Regions from separate parts of the Homo sapiens genome. Here region 1 is linked to region 2. Evidence: promoter capture Hi-C in human tissues and cell types (Jung and others, 2019). All regions are on one chromosome and are shown on one strand. The core of a region is centred on a gene start or on the middle of the fragment in contact, and the rest is flanking DNA. Distances in the headings are between cores, read along the strand shown. Region 1 has its middle 53 kb from the start of LINC03040. Region 2 holds the start of MRPS18A (mitochondrial ribosomal protein S18A).

Evidence for each region. The method cuts DNA at HindIII sites, captures the fragments that hold promoters and counts their contacts. A contact is called where the count stands out against the background at its distance.
Region 1: a fragment that was not itself captured here is called in contact with the fragment with the promoter of MRPS18A in region 2 in 4 of the 25 tissues and cell types used here (IMR-90 fibroblasts, adrenal gland, neural progenitor cells and 1 more).

The regions. Positions count from the first base shown.
Region 1 is chr6:43,946,019-43,949,372 of GRCh38, forward strand. No RefSeq gene overlaps it. Among named protein-coding and RNA genes, the nearest start is that of LINC03040, 53 kb to the right of the region's middle. The HindIII fragment of the contact is 7,768 bases long and covers 1-3,354 here.
Region 2 is chr6:43,686,284-43,689,503 of GRCh38, forward strand. It overlaps MRPS18A (mitochondrial ribosomal protein S18A), which reads right to left and starts at 1,508. Exons shown (of 6, transcript NM_018135.4): 1 at 1,385-1,508. The coding sequence starts at 1,496. It overlaps LOC124901320 (a long non-coding RNA gene), which reads left to right and starts at 2,679. Exons shown (of 2, transcript XR_007059586.1): 1 at 2,679-3,056. RefSeq lists enhancers at 1,262-1,321, 1,267-1,878. The HindIII fragment of the contact is 2,163 bases long and covers 138-2,300 here.

The DNA of each region.
Region 1 (3,354 bases), core at 231-2,730, 260 kb after region 2:
GCCTCAGAAGTCACACAACATCATTTCTTCCGAGTTCTGTTAGGCACAGGAAGTGACTAAAGCTTCAAGGGGAATAAATTCAAGGGGAGGGATAAGAGGCCCTCCTACCTCTCAATAGGAGTACTGAAAAATTTGCAGCCAAATTTTAAAACTTCCACAGAGGTAAAAGAATTAAGCTTCTATAGTTAAGAAAATTCCAGTAGATTGGTGATCTCTTCTGAACAATGAGATGGTCTATACTCTATCCCAATGAACTGCCTATCAGCCTTCTGCCCCAGGAAGATCTCACAAGCCTGGCTGAGCCAGGTCACATAAACATCTTCACAACACAATGCTTTGCTGCTAGAGGTGGTCAAAATGCAGGTGGCACCCCAGCTCCACATCCACATTCACAATGACTCCCCAACCCTCACCCACCCTCGCCCCTCCTGAAGTCTGTTTTCCCCACAGAAGTGGCAAGGAATCTCCTCAGAAAGCCCAAGAAAGCATGAAATGGCAGAATTAGAAATGATTTCGGGTGGCATATATCTGTCCTTGGGCTTCCCAAACCTGGCTGATCCTTAGTACACTTGCTAAGATGGGAGATTCTCCAACTGGGAGAAGACATTTGCCACTTAAAAACCTGGCAGCGATTAATATGTAAAATAGTCAAGCTCAAGGTTGAGCACTGGAGCCAGAAGAGAGAGAGAGAGAGAGAGAAAGAAAATAGTCAAGGAACTCCTGTTAATCATCAAGAAAAAGACAGGAAACTCAATAGAAAAAAAAAATGGGCAAAAAATATGAATAGGCACATCCTAAAAGAGGGAGTGCAGTGGCTGATGAAGAGATATGCTAATTCACTAGTCATCAGAGAGATGCATGCTTCAAACAATAATATAGCTTCACGCCTAAGTGAATGGCACAAATTAGAAAGGTGGATCATGCTCAGTATAGGGAGATGGGACTCTTGTGTCCTATAGGCGAGAGGATAAACTAGTACAGCCATTCTGAGAGCAATCTGTCTGTATCTAGTGAAACTAAATATGTGTATGGCCTGCATCCCAGAATCTCACAAATGGGTCTATAGCAGGGGAGAATGATCATGCAGGAATGAAAGAGGACTTGTACATGGTGCTTGTGGCAGCAAAATTTGGGGTAGTAGGAAGTCGGAGGCAACATAAATGTTCATCCCTGGAGGAGTAGATAAGTAAGGTGGGTGGCTTCTTTCCAAGTGGCAGTTAGAAACAGGCCAGATGTACAGACATAGATCTTAATAGCAATGTTGAATGAAAAAAGTGAGAAACAGAAGGAGAATTACAGCATAGTACCATTTATATAAATTATAAAACATGCAGAAAACACCACCACCCGGCATACAAAGAAGATGCATATTTAAAGACCTATATCAAACACATAGAATGAAGGTCTAGGTCTGGTCGGAAGGCGGGAAGAATGAGAGTGGAAATGTAGGTGAAGGAGAAAAAATACAATGAAAAGTAACATTTCAAGGGGGCTTTGAATAGACTACTGTTAGGATGCTGGGAATCAATGAGTATAATTGAATCAATTATCTATATCTGAGGTAAAAATAAATAAGTAAAGCAGATTTCTAGACTTTAACTACAGGGATTCAGTTTCAATAAGCCTGTAGTGAGCCCAAGAATATGGGCCCTGGTGATTGTCAATGCTCACTCCAACATCCTAGATAGATGATCACAGTGGCTACCTGAAAACACCTGGTGATGGGAGCCCATTCCTGTACTAGTGGGCTGTTCCAATTCTTGATAGGACTTCCTAAGGCCAAGATTTACCTCTCTGTACCTTCCAAACCATTGATCCAAGTTCTGTTCTTCAGAACAAATAAAATAATCAGGTTCCTCCTGCTTCTGCATGCCAGTCCTTTAGTAAACCAGAGAGAGTCAGCATATTCCTCTCCCATCCCACAGGCACAGGCATCTTGTCCAAACTCGATAGCTCTCCATTCCTCCAGCATCTCCAAGCCCACCAAGGTTCTCTCCTCTACCCTGCTCCCACCCCAGCCAAGCTGTTCCCCTAGGTCTGTTCTAACTGCCAATGTTTCTCCTCAAACATGGCTCCTCAGAGAGACCCCACACTCCGAGTACAGCCTGACCAGCTCAGAGCATAGCAGAACATATACCTCCTGTCAGGGCCCTGTGTTCCTGTGGGTATAACCTCACATTACAGTCAGTTTGGTGTTTTTTGTTTGTTTGTTTGTTTTTGTTTTTAATTAGCGCTCAGTGAGTTTATGGTGGGCCAGACTTACAGGTCTTTTTCACTAGAATTGATACAAGGGCTGCTTTATCCATTTACACACACACACACACACACACACACACAAATATATATATGGCACAAAAAAATACACAAAAGATATACATACAGTACAAAGCAAGACCCCAGCCAGCCACTTTTCAGATACACTTTTCTTGTGTATCTGTCTGCAGATGATCTGTACATATACAAACGGAGACACACATTCCTAATCATACAAAGAGCTGCATAGTCTACACTATCAGTGTGCACTGTCGGGCACCTTGCTTTTTCACTTAACCAGGTATCTTGGGGAATTTTCCTTATCCGTACATAATTCCTTGGCTCATTCTCTGTATCAGGCCCATAGCCTTCCATTGTGTGGATCTACCTAAAGTATTCAACCAATCCCCTACTGGTGGACATTTTGGTTGTTTCTAGGCCTTTGCAGCATTTAAGGCCATGTTGCCAGGACTCCTTTTGCACATAAGTCAGCATTTCTGTAGGATCAATCCCCATGTGCCTTTTGACTTGATTTTTTTCTCTCCCTAGAGCTGGACTTGTCACTTATGCCTACTGTTGATCTCTCTTGTTGGTTTTACCCATTGTTCCAGGCACTGTCAGGCTAATTTTGAATCCTCATTGTGCTGCCAAGCCTGCTCCTCTCAGCTGTGGGTCATCTGCAAACAGAGGGAGGGGAGCTTCTCAGGTCTCCATTCAAGCAATTGATAAAAATGTTGAGGGGGATGGGGCCAAGGACAAGGGCCGTGAAACAAGCCCTAGAGAATTCCAGGTGTCCATTCATCATTTGTCACCATGGTTGAGTCCCTGCTGTTAGCATGGGAGCTGGCCTCACTAGCATATCCTAACAGGCCTATATTACCCTCTTGGCCAAAACTCAGCATTCTCACCTCCAGCAGTCCAGCATCCCAGTGAGAAAGAGCTGAGGCTGGTTAGCACGGCATTGTTTGCTTCCAGTAGAACCAGCTGGAGGGTCTGGAGAGGAAATCCCTGGAATTTGTGGTCAACAGAGCTGGGGGCCTGTCCTGCCCAGTTCTAGCGATGTGGTTTGGGGCAAATTACTTAACCTCCAAATGCCTCAGG
Region 2 (3,220 bases), core at 258-2,757:
CTCCCCAAAATGGTATGGAGATATGCCTATTTTGCAGCATGGGAACAAATGAAACATCCAAGTCCTCTCTATCATCTGCATGATTTCTTTAGTGTCTTTATTAATGGGTCTACTAATGGATAAGTTAATCAGGCAATATCCAGACTTTTTTTTCTAGCAAATGCTCCACTTCCCTTACGGGCTAAATTCTTCAAACATACTTACTATTTCCATCTCTTCATCAACTATCTCTTTCATTTCTCCAAACTGGATTCCTTGTTTGCCACTCTATTGAAATTGCTGTTTGAAAGCTACAAAGAGACCTCTTCTGAGACAAATCCAATGGCCCCTTCATTAGGCCCTTTTTAGACTTTTCTGCTCCCTCTGACAACAATGATCACTCTTTTCCACTGGATACTTCTCAGCTTTCGTTAAAGGATATGCTGCCCAATACTATGCCAGATCCTCAAAAAACCCCACATCTCTTCTTTTGCACATCACTCATCCTTTCCTGCTTCCAGGAGTACACAAAGGAAGGCTATGTCCTAAAAGACCGTTTCACTCTCCGCCAGATTCCATCCTTTTGTGAGCCTGCTCAAGACACATCCTCTTTATGAAAACTTCCAACTGGGTTTGCCGTTTCCAGTAACTGAGTCTCCCTGTACTTCGTCACGTAAAAGGCTAACTTGCATTTATTGGAGTGTGTATATACATAATCTCATTAGAACCTAAGCTTTTCAGAAAAAGGGCTGTATTTTCTGTCTCCAGAATTCCTTCACAGCTTGAAGCATAGCACTTGGCATTCAGTAAACTCTCAGTTGATGCTCGAATCAGGCCGCTTTCCCAGATTAAGATTAATGAAAAGCTGAACTACCATCCTGCATTTGCCTATGTCTCAGCTATTCAATGGCCTTTCCACTTTGGCCTCCCCCTCACAGGGAGACTAGCGGCCCGGGGCAGAGAACGCCGCCATCAGATCACAGCATTTTGAGAAGGGAAAGTGGAAAGGGAGGCTCTGGGAGGGTACCCAGATGGCCTTCCTTCGTGATCCAGAGACTCTTTAATAAAAGAGACTGCGATTCGGAGAACATGGAAGGAAGAATTAACATGCAAACCCTTTCCGAAAACTTTTCTGAGCCCTAGGACAGGTTTAGTGTCTGCTCCTGCTAAGTAAGCAGGCTTTTCTCTCCGTCCTCCTCCGCCTTGTGAAGATACTCACAAGGGGCAGGAGATCAAGATAAGGCACCAGGGTGTGGAAGGGGCTTTTAAGCACGCCTGGGGAGCCGGTACCTCCAAAGTTTCAGAATCGGACGAAGGAAAGGTAGGAAGGAGCGCACCGGGGCTGGCGGAAGCAGTCTCTGCCGCTCTTCTTAATTTCAGGAGGTTGCTGGGACGCATGACTCACCTTCCCTGAACCCGCGAGCTGGAAGCCGAGACCAGCTGGTCGCTGCCGGGCCCGCTAGTAGCCCACGGAGAAGCCGCCCACAGCCGGACACCAGAGCCTTGAGGGCCGCCATCTTCAAAAACCTACCCTGACCTCTCGTCCATTTCCGCTTCCGGAACGTAGCGCCCGCCGCCGCAGTGGTGGGGCAGGAACGGCGGGGCGGGGTTGTAGTTCGCTTGCTCCTGTCACATCATTTCTCTCACCTGTCCGCTTTGGGATACGAAGAGAGGCTTCTGCGTCAAGCCTATATTTCGTGTTAAGGATCTAGGGGAGGTCTTCTAGCTCCTGTCTGCCAATGCCTACAAGTCTTCAAGGTTGCATTCGTTTCCTGGAAGGCTTCCTTAGGAAAATCGCACGCAACACCCCACCTATGTCTTTAAAGCTTTCTCTTCACTGCACGTGAGCTGTGGACTTTTAGCTTCTGTGACTGGGGCTAGACCTCTACGGGAGAGGCTGAAATGGTTAGGAACTCTGGCTCTGGAGTATCGGATATCAGGCAGACCTGGGATAGAATTGATACCCCCTTCTTCCCTGACCACTGCCACACTGATCTTTGATTTGCATATACTTAGACCTCTCTCTAGCCCCAGGGCCTTGATACAAGCTATTTCCTTTGTCTGCTCTTTAGCTGTCTAGTTAGCTTCTGCTTATTTCTTAGAGCTCACCTCAAACCTTATTTCCACAGTTTTGCTTGACTGCCCATTCTCAGCACCAGATGCCTCTCCATCTTAGTGCTTGGGACAATTTCAGTTTTATGTTTGTTTTGTATGTGTCTTCTCACCAGACTGTAAGCTCCATGAAGTCAGGAACATTGTTTTCTGTTGACTCGCACATCTCCAGCACTTAGAATAGTTCCTGACACATAATAAGAGTACAATATATACTTGTTGAATGAATGAGTAGAATCTATTTTATAGGGCCTAGGGGAGGACTAGACCCTGAAGATTAGATGTGATAAAACATAAGTGATCGGCCGGGTGTGGTGGCTCATGCCTGTAATCCCAGCACTTTGGGAGGCTGAGGCGGGTGGATTACCTGAGGTCAGGAGTTCAAGACCAGCCTGACCAACATGGTGAAACCCTATCTACTAAAAATACAAAAATTAGGTGGGTGTGGTGGCGGGCACCTGTAATCCCAGACACTTGGGAGGCTGAGGCAGGAGAATCGCTTGAACCCAGGAGGCGGAGGTTGCAGTGAGCCAAGATCACACCATTGCACTCCAGCCTGGGCGACAAGAGTGAAACTCCGTCTCAAAAACAAAACAAAACAAAACAAAACAAAACAAAAGGGCTCAATAAACATAAGCTAGTTAATAGAGCAGTTATGGAGATGACTCTTTTCACAAGTTGGACTCACTTGTGTTGTAAGGAAGCTTATGGTACCAAAGAGAAAATACAACTGCCAGTTTTTCCTCTTTCAGATTTGTGAGACGTATAGGATGTTCCTCTGGAGCTCCACAGGAAAGGAAAATCATTCACAACTCAGTTCTTCCTATCCTTCTCTGATTCAAGATGGGAAAATCAGGCTTATTAAATGACATAGCATGTTTTCTGATGAGTAGGAGAGGAGCCCATCATCCAGTTGGGACCGTCACCCTAATAGGAGGATGCAGAGCAGCTGCTGTATGGAAAATGTGAGTGGCATCACCATAGACAGGGAGAACAGGAGAAATGCAGCATTGGGTTACGTTAAAACATCTCATTTAGCAAAGGTAAACCCGGTGAAGGGGAAACTTAAAAGAAAAGTCAATCAAGGTGGTAGAGACTGACACATGGATTAGGAGTGAAGCAGAGGGTC